4 separate regions of the Homo sapiens genome follow, and regions 2, 3 and 4 are each linked to region 1. Evidence: promoter capture Hi-C in 16 types of primary human blood cells and fetal thymus (Javierre and others, 2016). All regions are on one chromosome and are shown on one strand. The core of a region is centred on a gene start or on the middle of the fragment in contact, and the rest is flanking DNA. Distances in the headings are between cores, read along the strand shown.

What was found. Contacts are between HindIII fragments. The CHiCAGO score rates a contact against its expected background, and 5 or more counts as called.
Region 2: a contact is called between a fragment that was not itself captured here and the fragment with the promoter of ITSN2 in region 1, in 1 of 17 cell types (fetal thymus). The highest score is 5.3, in fetal thymus.
Region 3: a fragment that was not itself captured here is called in contact with the fragment with the promoter of ITSN2 in region 1 in 1 of 17 cell types (M1 macrophages); the score reaches 5.0 in M1 macrophages.
Region 4: a fragment that was not itself captured here is called in contact with the fragment with the promoter of ITSN2 in region 1 in 2 of 17 cell types (M1 macrophages and M2 macrophages); the score reaches 5.4 in M1 macrophages.

What each region holds. Positions count from the first base shown.
Region 1 is chr2:24,358,542-24,362,392 of GRCh38, forward strand. ITSN2 (intersectin 2) reads right to left here and starts at 1,995. Exons shown (of 40, transcript NM_006277.3): 1 at 1,763-1,995. RefSeq lists silencers at 1,409-1,808, 1,819-1,868, 1,879-2,178 and an enhancer at 2,279-2,428. The HindIII fragment of the contact is 2,111 bases long and covers 726-2,836 here.
Region 2 is chr2:25,038,503-25,042,353 of GRCh38, forward strand. DNAJC27-AS1 (DNAJC27 antisense RNA 1) reads left to right here. Exons shown (of 3, transcript NR_034113.1): 3 at 1-1,192. It overlaps EFR3B (EFR3 homolog B), which reads left to right and starts at 3,574. Exons shown (of 23, transcript NM_014971.2): 1 at 3,574-3,817. The coding sequence starts at 3,811. RefSeq lists enhancers at 2,582-3,531, 3,532-3,851 and a silencer at 3,438-3,851. The HindIII fragment of the contact is 2,097 bases long and covers 874-2,970 here.
Region 3 is chr2:23,825,232-23,829,082 of GRCh38, forward strand. ATAD2B (ATPase family AAA domain containing 2B) reads right to left here. Exons shown (of 28, transcript NM_017552.4): 15 at 3,618-3,708. Among named protein-coding and RNA genes, the nearest start is that of ATAD2B, 100 kb to the right of the region's middle. The HindIII fragment of the contact is 1,569 bases long and covers 952-2,520 here.
Region 4 is chr2:24,886,671-24,890,521 of GRCh38, forward strand. All of the region lies in intron 2 of ADCY3 (adenylate cyclase 3), which reads right to left. Among named protein-coding and RNA genes, the nearest start is that of ADCY3, 32 kb to the right of the region's middle. The HindIII fragment of the contact is 4,838 bases long and covers 1-3,851 here.

The DNA of each region.
Region 1 (3,851 bases), core at 745-3,244:
TTGTCTTACTAAAGATGGAAATTTGTGAAACTCTACATTAAAACTAAAAATCCTAAGGTTACATGATTTTCTACTTTTTAAAAAAGATATACTAACTACATAAGGTTAAAGGATTTTTTAAAATAAGAAAGAAAAAAAGAAAAGCTTCTTGAAAGCTGCTGAGTTTGGGTGATGGGTACATGCTATTTTTGTGAAAATACAAATTTTTTAACACTATTAATCCAATCCCCAAAACATGCCTAACACACCTCCTCATATTCAGGAGAGATCAAGATTTTAGCCTTGAGATGTACCGAACAATGGTAACTCCCTGCTTAGTAATTCTGTACAGGTCAAGTTTTCTTGGACGAGTTTACCTTTCATTACAAAGGTGGGCACAGGGAATAGTTATCAATGCATGGAAGGGTGAAAAAATGCAAGCTTTTCAACTGCTTATTAATATTACATCAAAATAGCAGCAATGCACATTTTTTCCACGTTTTCAAAAACATAAAATACATCCACTTTATTTACTTTTGAAATTACAAGAGAGTCACAGGCACAGCCAAAAAAAGCTAAAGGAAAACACATCAGAGTTGTCAGTATCTTTAAATTTGGAAGGACGTCATTATTAATTCGCGTAAATGTTTTATGCGATGTTTCTAGGTAGCTTTTAGGTTTTATCACTGATTAACAATATAGCAAACCAGCACAGGGAGAGAGGCAATTTTTCGAAACGCTTAAGAAGCTTTAAACTACAAGAGCTATGCTACCTAAACTGAGCTCACTAACAACGTAAAATTTCAAGTCACACCTTGCCTATTTCTGAGTAAGCAAGCAAACACTAGTGAGACAAACTAGAAGCATGGAGCAAAGCAAGTCATTTCTATGCTAACCTTAATTCCTATCGTAAAGGGGTTGGCTCCATCAAAAAATATTCCTATTTCAGTATTAACACAAGTTTCAAATAAAGCACACTTGCCATTGGTAATTCTAGAGCGACAAGGCGCATAATTAATAAATCCAAACGGAGCATCTTTCTATAGAATACAAAGCCATCTGCAGTTTCAGCCTCGGTTTACCCACTCACTATGCATATGCAGACGTCTTTAAAAATAAATAAATAAATACACAAATAAACTTTATCTGGCCTGAGAGATTACATCTCTCGGTGCTTCCTGTATATTCTGGAAGTCAATAACGCTGAAGGTAAATTTAACATTTCCAACTCCGGAGGAACGCGAGCGGTAGACGCCAAGCATCCGCCCACTGTCCTCTCGTGACTCGGGCTACTTTGACGCACCGGGATGCGGCTCACCTGACATTCGGCACCAACCCTTGCCAGGAAGGAAAACCAACTCCGCGAAAATAAAATGGGTCCCCGAGGAGGCGTGCGGGTGCCCCCAGAGCTCTCTTCTGCTCACACCCCGAAAGCGAGGGGGCCACGCCACCCCCGACCCTCGCCGGCGTCCGCCACCTGCCAGACGAGGCCGCGGCCAGGGACCCGGGCTCGGCCGCAAGGAAGGGGCAGCCCAGCCCAGGCCCCCTCGGCGTCTGTCCCGGCCCGGCAGCAGAGGAAGGAACCCGGGGCCGGAGGTTTCCGCCCCGCACGGCCGAGCCCGCCAGGGGCCTAGCTCGGGGGCCGCCCGTACTCCCGAGGACCCGTCCCCATCGTGCGGAGCGCACAGCCGCCTCAGCCCGACCCGCAGAGCCTCCGGGCAGCGGGCGCGGCGCCCGCACCTGCCCCGCGCCTTGCTGCAGCCCCGCTAGCGGCTTCACCCACCTGGCGCCCTCGCCGCGCCTCCCGCTCGTCACAGCGCGACTCCGCGTCCCTCAGCACCGGCAGCCTGGGCGCGGGCAGGCGCGGGGAGACCCTGCTCTGCCGCCGTCGCCGCCACTGCAGCTGGCTTGGTCGTCAGGCCGCCGCCCGCGAACCTGTTGCGTAGCCTGTCACAGCCGCTCAGGGCTCCGCCGGCGCCGCCTCAGCCCCACAACAACATGGCGGCCGCGGCCTCCGCAGGAAGCCGGGGGGCGGGGAGGTAGGCGCCGGGCCGGGCAGCTGACGGCCCGCCCGCTGCCGGGCACCGACTCCCCACCCTCCGGAGCCCGAAACTGCCCGGGCGTGGCTCCTCGCCCCAGGAGTTCCGGGGCATTGAACCCTGAAGGTCTGCTCCGAGTCGGTCGGGTCCGAAGCGCTCCTCTCTGCCCTCGGGGAGGCCCCGAAGCCCCAGACCTGGCAGCCCTTCCTGGAGTTGCACAGACCCACCTGGCTCCTCCTCCCCGAGGTAACATGCTGAGCTTGGGTGGTGCTTTTCCTGCCACGGCAGACGCCGGGGTTTTGGAAAGTCCCAAGCAGTGCCTGCCACATCCCTGTTGCACCCACCACGGGGTTCTCCCTGGAACCTTCTCACTCGCCGAAGTTTTCTCCACTGATCTGGGGGAACGAATTCTCTGGGAATTGGGGGGTGGAAGGTGGGAAGGAGGTTGATCCCACCCTTGCCCATGGGTCTGTTACAGGCCTCTTGAACCCTTCTCAGGGACCTGGAGGACTTAACCATACCCTCGGTCATCCATTCACCATTCCTCGCCCTCCTCCATAACACACGCGGAGCGCCCACGAGGAGCACCCTCTACGCTAGTCACACTCCGCCGAGCAGTAGGAAGACTCTGTCCCCATAGAGCATAGCACGACGAAGCTAAACTTTCCTCCCCACCCCTCGCCAAGGGACAGGCGAAGCTCCTACTCAGAATTTGTCTCTTTTCTCCCCTCCCGGTTCCTGGTCTCCTCACAAAAGACCAGACTTCAACTCAAGCCGCCACCGTATCCCAAAACCCCAAAGGTTTGCCCTTGACAAGAAGCTTCTTCAAGGGGAAAGGCTTTCTTTTGATTGGGGTGAGGGAGGAGTTAGTGTTTCCTAATGAACGTAACCAAATGTCGGCCTGGCACAGTGGCTCACGCTTGTAACCCCGGCACTTTGGGAGGCCGAGGCAGGTGGATCATCTGAGGTCAGGAGTTGGAGACCAGCCTGGCCAACATGGTGAAACCCCGCCTCTTCTAACAATACAAAAATTAGCTGGGCGTGGTGGCGGGCGCCTGTAGTCCCAGCTACTCGGAAGGCTGAGGCAGGAGAATCGCTTGAACCTGGGAGGCGGAGGTTGCAGTGAGCAGAGATTGCACCACTGTACTCCAGCCTGGGCGACAAGAGCGAAACTCTGTCTCAAAAAAAAAAAAGTAACCAAATGTAAGACTCAAGATTTTTGGATATAAGACCCAAGATTTCTTTTTTTTTTTTTTTTTTTTTTTTTTTTTTTCCTGAGACAGACTCTCACTCCGTTGCCCAGGCTGGAGTGCAGTGGCGCAACTGTGAGATCTGTGCTCACTGCAACCTCCGCCTCCCAGGTTCAAGCAATTCTCCTGCCTCAGCCTTCCAAGTACCTGGGATTACAGGCACTTGCCACCACGCCCGGCTAATTTTTGTATTTTTAGTAGACACTGGTTTCACCATGTTGGCCAGGCTGGTCTCAAACTCCTGACCTCAGGTGATCCACCCGCCTCATCCTCCCAAAGTGCTGGGATTGGCGTGAGCCACCACGCCCGGCCAAGACCCAAGATTTATTTTGGCTTTTAGAAGCAGGGTGAGGGCTGGTCTGGGGTCCAAAACTCATATCCCTTGATTTGATCTGTGTAGATCAAATAACCCCTGGCATCCTTTCATTCCTTACCTGTTGAGGCAGGTGAAGGTGAGATGGCTCCAAACCCAGGCCTATCTGAACTGGCCAGCCAGCTTAGGAGGAATTTACCAAACATCGATGATGATAAACAGGCTTTTCCCGCTCTCACACTCAGTGTTTTTCCTAACTCTTCGATTAGA
Region 2 (3,851 bases), core at 672-3,171, 680 kb after region 1:
TGCCTCAGCCTCCTGGGTAGCTGGGATTACAGGCGCCTGCCACCATGCCCGGCTAATTTTTGTATTTTTAGTAGAGATAGGGTTTTGCCATGTTGGCTAAGCTCGTCTGCTAACCCTAGAGCTGACAGGAAGGCTTTTGGGTTGGGCGGTTTTACGGGGAAAATACTCTGTAACAGCGTTTTTCCTTTACTCTCACATCACAACAATCAACGCAGAAGAGTTATGACCAAATGTCGGGGTGGGGGGGGGGCGTTTCCCCACACACCAAGCAGCTGGGTGTCCTCTAATGCAGTCTGACACTGAAAAGTAGTGTCAGATCCCACATTGGAGGGCTCAGTCCCCAAGACTGTTCCCCCAACACCAGTTGTAAGTCCAGACCTCCAGAACTTCTGACCAACTGGCTTCAAGTTGGGGTTCCCGTGACTCCCTCTTCGGGTTCAATTAATTTGCTGAAGTTGTTCAGAGGGACTGAAATTTACAAAGGTCAGAGATGGTAGAGGAAAGAGTATGGTAAGTGTGGTGTGCAAGCCCATCTAGTGGGAGCACAGTTGAGGAGGGAACAGGAGGTGGAAGCCAGGTGGGAAAGGAAGTCTGGGGCCCTGTTGGAAGGACCTTGAATGCTGTGTTGTTATGATAGACAGTTTTCCTCCATGATTCCTGGCTCATAACTCCCATAGCCCTTGTTACAGTCTTTTGTTGTAATATTGAGTGTGTTAGGCCACAGGAAACAGACTCTCTCCTTCTCCTGCCCTCCTTTCACCTGCCCCCAGGCAGGACTCTAATCTTTCCTGGACTTTCCAATGGTTGTTCTTAAGACCATTCCCAGAGAGGTTCCCACCCTATACCCCGGGGGAAGGAATGCTGACGTTATAAAGCTTTCATAAAAACCCAAGCGGACAGGGTTCAGGGAGCTTTGGGATAACTGAACACATCGAGGTTCCTGGAGGGTGGTGCCTGGGGGAGGGCTTGGAAGCCCTGTGCCCCTCCTCCCACACCTGAATTGTTTTTTCTTTTTCCCTTCATGAAACTCTTCCCTGCTCCTTGTATGTGCCTCCATAGTCATTATAAGATTTTATGATAATTTTTACATGTCTCCCCGCTCCTAAGTACCTTCCACAGTGTCTAGCATGTCATAGGGAGTGATTGGTAAATAGCTGATAGAAAGAACAAATTAAACTATCAGCCTTGTGAATTTTCTAAATAGAGGTCTGTACTTCTCATGCAGAATTGACTATGTTTTTTTCCTGCCCAGTAATTTTTTTTTTTTTTTTTTTTTTTTTTTTGAGACAGTGTCTCACTCTGTCGCCCAGGCTGGAGTGCAGAGGCACAATCTCAGCTCACTGAAATCTCCGCCTCCCAGGCTCAAGCGATTCTCCTGCCTCAGCCTCCCGAGTAGCTGGGACTACAGGCATGCACCACCATGCCCGGCTAATTTTTGTATTTTTAGTAGAGATGTGGTTTCACCATGTTGGCCAGGCTGGTCTTGAACTCCTGATCACAGGTGATCCACCTGCCTTGGCCTCCCAAAGTGCTGGGATTACAGGTGTGAGCCACCACGTCTGGCCTCAAGTAATGTTTTTATCAGTATTCATCTGGAATTCCCTGCTAGACCTTTCATTCTTTGAAGACAGACACTGCATTTCCTTCTGTACTGTAGACACCAATGTTTCATGAGTATATTTTGTGTTGAGCAGAATTGTGGGAAGGGAGTGTCTCTGGGTGATCATATCAAGCTAGAGCTGAGATTCTCCTTCCTGCTCCAGTTCAAGTCTGACTCTCAGTCAATCTTAAAGCCACCTGGCCTGGTCCTGGAACTGAAGAACAGAGACAGAGGTTATTTGTGAGATGCAGGGAGTGTGTGCCCGGGGTAGGGGGGTCTAGACTAAATGTGTGTTCCAGGAACCATCCCAGGGTTTCCCTTGGGGCTGGCATGCTGCTAAGAGAGTCAAAGAGGTCAAGGAAGAAGAAGAAAACCTGGAAACAGCAAGAGAGTGGGGCGCGGGCGGGAGGTGGAGGCCCAGGCCAGAGAAAAATAGGAAACATAAGTTTTGAGTGCAACAGACTGAGCACTGTTTCAAGAGTCTGGCAACCTGGATTCTTTCTCTGGCTCTGTTCCTGCCTTGAGCCATGAAGGAAGGAAAAAATATACATGAGTGCCCACTGTGTCATTTCATGTAGATTTTATTCCAGTTTCCCAACAGTCCTGCAGGAAGCTGGGGTTGAGAGAGTAGATCATTGGCCTACAGACACACAGCCCAGCCTAACAACATAAATTAACCTCTCAACGTTAAATGAAGTAAAATGAAGTTCAGTTCTTAAGTATCTTTAAGTTCCTTTCCTCTCTAACTTCTACTAGTAGAATATTTCTACCAGTAGAAAAAAACAAAAGAAAACCCAAACAACTCTCAACCATGGGCCAAGAGAAACTAAGAAATCGATATTGAAAGGCCAGGAGGGGCAGGAGAAGTGGCTCAGGCCTGTAATCTCAGCACTTTGGGAGGCCGAGGCGGGCGGATCACTTGAGGTCAGGAGTTCCAGACCAGCCTGGCCAACATGGTGAAATCCCTTCTCTACCAAAAAATACAAAAATTAGCCGGGCGTGGTGGCACGCACCTGTAGTCCCAGCTACTCTGGAGGCTGAGGTGGAAGAATCGCTTGAACCCAGGAGGCGGAGTTTGCAGGGAGCCGAGATAGTGCCACTGTACTCCACCCTGGGCGAGAGTGAGACTCCATGTCAAAAAAAAAAAAAAAAAAAAAAAAAAAAAAAAAAAAGACGGGAACGTGTGCAATGTAAAGAAGGCTGGATGAGAAGCCCAGGGAAGTCCTGAGCTAGCTTAGGAGAGATCTTCAGGTGTGGGCGTAGGCATGAGCCGCTGCCTCTCTGTGCCTGTTCCTCATAGGGTCACGGCAGGTGCAGAGCTGGAATTCAAGTCGGCGCTGGGGCTCAGCTGGAGAGGATCCTGGCGGCAAAGCTTGCGAATTACACATATAAATCAGGGAGAGGAAAAGCAAGCGGACTTCCTGCAGCCCTTGGGGGTTGGGAGTGGGGTGCGTTTCCTGCGTCCCTGACCCGGGAAGGACGCTGTTTGGTGGTAGCAAGCACCTAGCCAGAGAGTGGCTGGGCACCTAGCCAGAGAGTAGCTGGTAGGGCGCAGCTGAGGGCTGGAGGGCTTCATCAGAGAACGGCGCTCAGCTAAGGTACCTAGCCAGGAGAGGGTGGAAGTCATTCCCCAATTCCCATCCTTGCGCCCCCCGGCTTAGCCCACGCAGCCTGGACAGAACTGGAGGAGGGGTGCACCTGCAGCTCTCAGCGCCCCGGCTGACCTCGAGGACCCCAGGTTAGGGAGAGCTTCCGAGCGCTCCGACAGGAGCAGGGAGTTGGGGTGGGTAGCTCCGCAGGTGCACGCTGCGGCCCTTAGGGCGACAGCCTCGGAAAAGGCGCATCTCCGGCTGTGGGTTTCTCGGGGGCGGGGCGCAGGGGCGGGGCGGGGCGAGGGGCTCGCAGAGGCCTCGGGTTGGCCGAGCCGGGAGGGAGGAGCATTAGTATTAGCATAGCCCCCGCCCCCTGCGCGCAGCAGTGCCCAGCAACCCGAGCGGAGGCGGCCGCTGCAGCCCGGCGCTGAATGGGCTGGCGGCGCCCGGCTCCGTCCTGCCCGCGGCCGGCCCCCGCGTCTGCTCCCTCCCCGCCCGGGCCCCTGTCGGCCGCCGCCAGTCCCCGCCCCGACTGTGAATGAAAGGCGGGCGCCGCCGAGGGCTGGCTGGGAACGCCGCAGCGACGCCGGCCTCTCGAGAGGCGCGCGCCCCGCCGAGATGTACGGTAAGGAGGGCTCCGCGCCCGGGCCCGGGCCCGC
Region 3 (3,851 bases), core at 486-2,985, 530 kb before region 1:
TCACACCTGGCCTATTTATCTTTTTATACCTCACAATGACCTTATAGAACACTTAAATACTGAACTAAAAATGGTGATTACTAAGAAAAACCTATTCAAAGTTAGGGAAAAACTTAATATGACCTAGAAGAACTTAATTCAGAAGACTATAAGCAGATTACGCATTAACATTGTTCCATGACAGTGATCTATCTCACAAATAATTCTTCAGATAACCAAATTTACCACTAGTGTCTCGTTTTATTTTCTATTTCTCAAAGAAACCTGGAAAAAAATTATCTTTTCCTTTTGCATATATACCCATTTCATTAATTCAATAATGTATAGAACACTAGCTCAAAGTTATAAAGAGTTAACAAAGTAATCTAAGTATATGATTATAGAATGTGAATTATGTCTTCCATTTCCGAGGAAATAGGAATATACTACCATCTTCAAACAACATAAACAATCACGTTTCTATTTCTTCTTTAAAAGGATATACACAGTTAATGAACATATTATATGGTCCTATTTTAAGTGCAAAAGCCTAAGTTTAAAAAAATTAAAACTCAGAAACTATTAGGCAAAACAAATAATTAGCCACTAGAAGGCATTTTAGGTAGTAAATGTTACCCATAACATTTATGTTTGCCACAACATGTTAATTACATATATAACAGCAATGTATTATTTATTGATTTATTCCAGACAAAGAAATGATCAATAGACCCCATTTAATGAAGTAGATTTTCACATTAATTATTATAACCAACAGACTTATAAAGAAGGAAATTTTTTTACATTCGCTTATAAGTAAGAATTACCAGTTTATATCTGTGGTTCTCACCTTGATTATCCATCTGAATAAACACTGAAACTGAAACAAAAAAAAACAGATTCCCAAGCCCCACAATAAACCCAGTGAATCAGAATCTCTGGGGGCTTGAAATCATATGTGCATTTCAAGAAAGCTTTAGAAGTGACTCTGATACACACAAAATTGAGAACTACTGATTTAACATACTTCCTTCTAAAACTTTAAAATTGCATCATAACCATGGCTAAATGGGTTATACTTAGGGTAACCACATGTGCTGGTTAGGCCTCTTGTCCTGTCATAATAGCACATCTTTTCACTCTCAAAGCGTCCTTGTTTAGAAAATAAATAATATGATCATTCTAGTAATACTGAAAATATACTACAGCCTTTTAGGCGTTAAAAGTTAATATTAAAGAAATTATAAACATCCCTTTCATAACCATACTAAATCTACCATTACAATTCTAATACTCTGTGAACACATTTAGTTATCAAATAAAGAGCATTCCTGAATACTGCTATTAAGCTAGAAATTGTTCTAAAAAGACTGAAAATACAGCTACTAAAGAGGTTAGACTAGAAACAAGGTCATAACAAAATTTTATAAAGTTTTAAGTACAGCATCACACATAATGAAGGCCCACAAGATAAGTCACTTCATTGAGACTCTTTCATTGTTTTAGCCCTCTCATTGAAAATGGAATAGAAAAATATGATTAGAGTTGAGTGTTTCATTAATCATAAGTTTCCTACTATTTATGCAAATGTTCCTGATATCAATGTATGTTGAGTTTTTCACTATGCAAAAATCACACCCAATATGCATGCAAAAACCTCTAAGAACTTGGGAATTTCAAGGTAAAAGTTACCAAATCCATAACCTCTAACAAAAGGTCAGCTATCTTCACAGCTGTTCATCATACTCTATGAGGCATAAATTTCAATGAACTGAACCTATTCATGTTAAAACATGTTTGGCATACACAGACTAGTGAGTTTGTAATGGATTTAAAATTACTATTTCACGCCCGTTTGAAGATCTGAATTTGATTTTTTTTTTAATGTGAACCGGTTTCTCAGATGGAATGAATGTCATAACAAAAAACAGAAGTCATTTAATTATAATGGATTTTTATGTCACTGTCCAGGAAGAAAATGGTATATAAGCAGAGTCTGCACACATACTACCACCCCACAGAGGGGAGGGAAAAAAGGTAAGAGAAATTTATCAGTCCTGTAAGAAATTATACCATGAAAATTTTAAAACTTAAGAAACTGCCTAAAAGCTAAAAAAATCACTGGGAAAAATGAGAAGTATTGTCTTTGGAAATGCAAAAGGAAACTAAGATTCTAATATTTGGGGTGAAGAATTAAACTAGAGTATATAATATTTCAGATGGTAGACAGTATAATAGAAAGTAATTTAGAGTACCTATCTCTTAGGGAATTTCCAAAATGATTTGACAACTTGACTTCTGCTTATTTCAGTTAAGGATCATTCTGTGACAAATTCACAGAAAAATCTACAAAGATTTCCCAGTCCGATCTGAACTCTAGTAAAATATCATCATAAATAAAAGGGGTCTATTTTCAAAAAGGGAAAAGACTGGATTTTATACCAAATACCACCCTCTCCCATAAAGCAGCACAAGGCTTTGCAAAGGTCAAGCCAAATTTACATGAAATGTGTTTGGCGCATGCTCTCTTATACCAGGCAAAGCTTAAACTGAAGTAGTGCTGGAGAGATTTACGTTTTCTCCTCACCAGAAGATGTCGAGGTCTTTGTGGTTCAAAAGCTGAGGGATGCTGCTTCGGAGATGGAGGTCCCTGTGGATGAAGAGGATAATTTGGATGTAGCTAACTGAATGGACTAATGTTCTATTTAAGTTTTAATTATTTGATGGTGGATCACAATGATTTTTTAAATTAAGTTGTTCTTTTTGGCTTTGGTAACTTTAAAGTTTTCCCAAGTAAGCTGTTGTTAGTGGACTTATTTGGGGGATTTCTTCATAATGCTTAAAAAGTTCATGAAGATTGGGTTTTTTTTTTTTTATTTATATTTTTCAGAGTATGAGAGGAAAACAGACAAAAGAGGGGGAAAGAATGAAGGAGAAATACCTATGTGTATATTCAGGTGCCTAACATTGTATTCCTTTTTATTTCAGACCTAATTAGAGCCAAAACCCTGAATTCCATCTCCTATGTGTGATCATCTGTGCAGATAAACACTCTCACCACATCCTAGAAGGACAGTAGTGTTCATTCACTCTGTGGGGAGATCTTCCACTCTGTGAAAAATTTAAAGTTAAACTGGAAAGTTTTATATTTGGGGAACTACTACCAAATATAATTAACTATTTTCTTTGAAGACCTCTCCCACCCAACTTCTTTCTAGACCACAGGAATGAAAATAAGCCCGTTGTGTAATCTGCAAAGTAAAAGTAAAAGGCTGCAGTCCTGCTTTGACATGGACCTTTCTCTCTCAAGTTCAAGCTTATTTTTCTTAGTAAAATTTCTAAGAGGGAATGATATTCAAAAGGAGACCCTGTATTAATATTATGGATACCCAGCACTCAATGAAAGGCATGTTATTATTGAGCTTTGTTAACTAAACACCTAATGGCAGTTAAAATTCTAATTTAGAAGTACTCAAACTTTAAGTGAAACAGTCAAAATAACTTTAAAACATAAAGGTAGAGACAATCTATTGCACAATCAAAAACATAACTATGCTCATTCACATTCCAAATAAGGGGAAAGGGAGGTTGAGCAGAACAAACAATGACAATCAAAAAATTCAAACAGTAACACTCACCAACACATTTTTCAGCCAATTCACCTAAAAATGCATCTGACAATTTTGGATTCCAGTCCCTGGTATGGATCTGTAAGATGTGTTTTCTTGCCTAAGATGAAAAGCACAGATACATAAAATCTTGCCCAAGAAGAAAAGTACAGATAAAATATTATCAATCCCTCAAATACGTTAGGTGGAACAAATTTTGACTAACAATCCCATTAAAATTTTTATTTTAAAAAAAATTTAAAC
Region 4 (3,851 bases), core at 496-2,995, 530 kb after region 1:
CTCATCATCCAGCTCCCAGCAGCGCAAAAGCTCTACTCTCCTTAGAAACTGGAGCTGGTTCCGGGCGATGCCCACGGACTCACTGCTCTCACTCACTCGGATGAGCCTGCCCTGGGGAGGGGAAGGGGGAAGCCCAGCTGGCAAGGAGGCTGCCATGTGCCCTGAGTGGGTGAGGTTAGCTGCTGCACAAGGCAAGCCGGTCCCTGGGGCTCTGCTAGGCAGATGCTGGGCCTGGCTGGCACAAAGGGGTGCAAATCACCAACTCGACAGTCCCCCACAAGTGACACCCCGTGGCTCACTCTTGGTCTTAACTTCTCCCTAGCAGCCCCAGCTTTCTTCCTGTATTAGTCCGTTTTTGTACTGCTATAAATAACTGCCTGTGACCGGGCAATTTATAAAGGAAAGAGGTTTAACTGACTCACAGTTCAGCATGGCTGGGAAGGCCTCAGGAAATTTACAATCATGGCGAAAGGGTCACAAAACACCTCCTTCACAAAGCAGCAGGAAGACGTGCCGAGCGAAAGGGGAAGAGCCCTTTATAATACCATCGGATCTTGTGAGAACTCACTCACTATCACGAGAACAGCATGGGGGAAACCACCCCATGATTCAACTACCTCCACCTGGTCTCTCCCTTGACACGTAGGGATGATGGAGATTACAATTCAAGATGAGATTTGGGTGGGGACGCAAAGCCTAACCGTATCACTTACTCTCTCTAGCCTTCCACCTGCGAGCTCCACGGCTCCTTTCCCTCGGAGACCAGGCCAGCCACTGCACCTGGGGGGATTTTCACAGCCTGGGAACACTCGGGGCTGCCAAGAGGTCGAAAACCAGGCCAAGTCCCGAGGGGTTCACCGGCATCATGCAGCGATAGCCGTGATGGCTCCTGAGGGTGCCTGGTTCCCCCGGCATCTGGCTCTGTGGGCCCCCATGACCACGTGTCCCAGCCCACTCCCCCCCGACACACACACCTCCTCTCGGTGAGGCCAACACTCGGGGCAGGAAAGCATGGCGGTGAAGAATGCAGCTCCAAACTCAGGCTGGAGTGGAATTTCATCTCCATCATGGGCCTGGGCCTTGGAAGTTGCCACACTTTAAACTCGCTGCCTCCCCTGCGAAATGCAAATAACCACAGGCCCATCTCAGGGTGGGTTGGAGACTCCTCTATGATGTGTGTAAAGAGCCCAGCATCAGACTGTGCCAGATACACAATACATCTAAGTGTTACCTATTATTGTTAGGCATATTATAAATTCCCAAGGTTACTCCTGAATTTATTCCCAATTCTCCAGCTTTCTGAGTCTGCTTGAGTGAGTCAAGGTCATTTTCATCACCTGGGAAGGCAATGTGTGTCAATGGTCCCCAAATTTGGCTGTGCTGACATTCTAAGGCTCCATCCTCAAACACTGCCTTGTACACAGTAGGTCCTCTGTATCCACAGATTCAACAAAACTCAAATTTCATCACAAACATTCAAACACATTCGGAACATCAAAAACATTCAAACCACAACAGCTCTCAAGTAAGTTCCCATCCCCTGGTCCTCCCCCATTGCCTGTCCAGCCTCTGAGGTGGAATGCTGCCTGTGTCACTGTGCACTGGCTGGGTTTTGGGCCCTGCAGTGTAGCTGCACATCCTGGCCCCAGGACCCTGCCACCCAGCTGGACGGCTCAGCTCCTGTCCCATCCCTTTCCACGTCTCATTATCGGGAAGACCCTCATGGCAGTGCCAGCAGCTGCTAGAGCCACCTGCCGGTGCTGAACTGACCGACTACCTCCCAGCCCACAGTGGCTGCCTGTGTCTGGGGACACCAATTAACCTTCACACCATTAGTCAACAAGTCCTCCTCCAGCCCCTACAACAGGAGGGAGTGTGATGCCGTGGAATAAGCACTGTCTTTGGAGCCAAACTGGCTTGTGTTCTATCACTCCTTAGAAAGTCCCTTAAAACCTCCCTCTGCAACCTTCTCACATGGAAAATTGCCTCACATGGCAATTAGTATTTCTTGGCTCATATGTATATATGTATTTTATTTTACCAAAATGGTGGAAAGGGCCTGGTGTGGTGGCTCAGGCCTGTAATCCCAGTACTTTGGGAGGTCAAGGTGGGTAGATCACCTGAGGTGAAGAGTTTGAGATCAGCCTGACCAATATGGTGAGACCCCGTCTCTACTGAAAATACAAAAATTAGCCGGGCATAGTGGCATGTGCCTGTAGTCCCAGCTACTCGGGAGGCTGAGGCAGGAGAATTGCTTGAACCCGGGAGGCAGAGGTTGCAGTGAGCTGAGGTCACACCACTGCACTCTAGCATGGGCGACAGAGCGAGACTCTGTCTCAAAAACAAAAACAGTGGAAAGGCTGCAGAAAACTCAACTGTTTTTATTTCATTTATTGATACACGCACCTTCTGCTAACACTATCTTCAGCTTATAATGCGTGAGGAAGGAATGAAAGCTATTAGGGTGTGTCCTACCTTCCCTTTTATTTCTGTGTCATTAATTTCAGCATTAAATGGTTGGCCAATACAGGGAAGCAGCATGGGATGTTCATGTTTCTGAGAATGTCACTGCCTTCTTTCTGTATTTGAAGCAAGTTCTAGTTTGAACAGAAAGCACAAAATCTCAGAGCTGTCAGTACCTCTACTTACTCAGCTGTGGATGCGACATGTTATTTTGCGCTTGTTTTGCATCTTGCTCAACTCCCAGACATTGTGAATTCACCAGAACTCCATGTTGCCGGGGCATCACACACAAATATGCAAATGACACAAAAACATATGGCAGGTACTCATCTTGTATGTATTTCTTCAGTACATATGCATGTTCCATTGTCTCAGCAGGCTTCAGCTGCAAAACATAAGTTCAAAAATAAAACTGTTGGCTGGGCACAGTGGCTCACGCCTGTAATCCTGCCCAGCACTTTGGGAGGCTGAGGCGAGTGGGCCACTTGAGGTCAGGAGTTTGAGACCAGCCTGGCCAACGTGGTGAAATCCCATCTCTAATAAAAATACAAAATTGGCCAGGCGTGATGGCACATGCCTGTAATCCCAGCTACTTGGGAGGCTGAGGCAGGAGAATCGCTTGAACCCGGGAGGCGGAGGTTGCAGTGAGCCAAGGTCGCGCCATTGCACTCCAGCCTGGGCAGCAAGAGCGAAACTCCGTCTCAAATAAATAAATGAATAAATAAAATTGTTAAGAATTTCCAGACTGCACAAGTCATGTGCTCATAAAGCCAACCTTGGTTAAAAAGAGAACATTCAGACTTTCTCTATTAAATATGATGTAGGTTTTGCAAAGATGCCTTTTCTCAGGTTGAAGAAATTATCTTCTTTTCCTAGTTTGCTGAGAGGTATTATCTGAATGGATGCTGAATTTTGTCAAATGCTTTTTTCTGCATTTGACAAAATTGAGATGATCTTATGGGTTTTCCTTTTCAGTAGGCTAATGTTAAACTGCACCAATTTTAAGATGTTAAAACCACCCTGCATTCCTGTGCAAATCCCTACTTGGTCATTATATATTATTCTTTTTATATATTTCCAGGTTTTCTTTGCTAATATTCTGTTAAAGATTTTTGCTTACATGTGCATGAGGGATATTCATCTGGAGTTTTTGTTTTGTAACGTCTTTGTCTGGTTTTGATATCAGGGCAATATTGAATTCATAAAATAAGTTGGGAAATGTTCCCTCCTCTTCTACTTTCTGATAAAATTTATGTGGAATTGGTATTATTTCATTTTTAAATGTCTGATGAAATTCAGCACTGAAACCATCTGAGGCTGGGGTTTCCTTTGTGGAAGGTTTTAAACCAAAATTCAATTTCTACAATGGATATGGGGCTATTCAACAT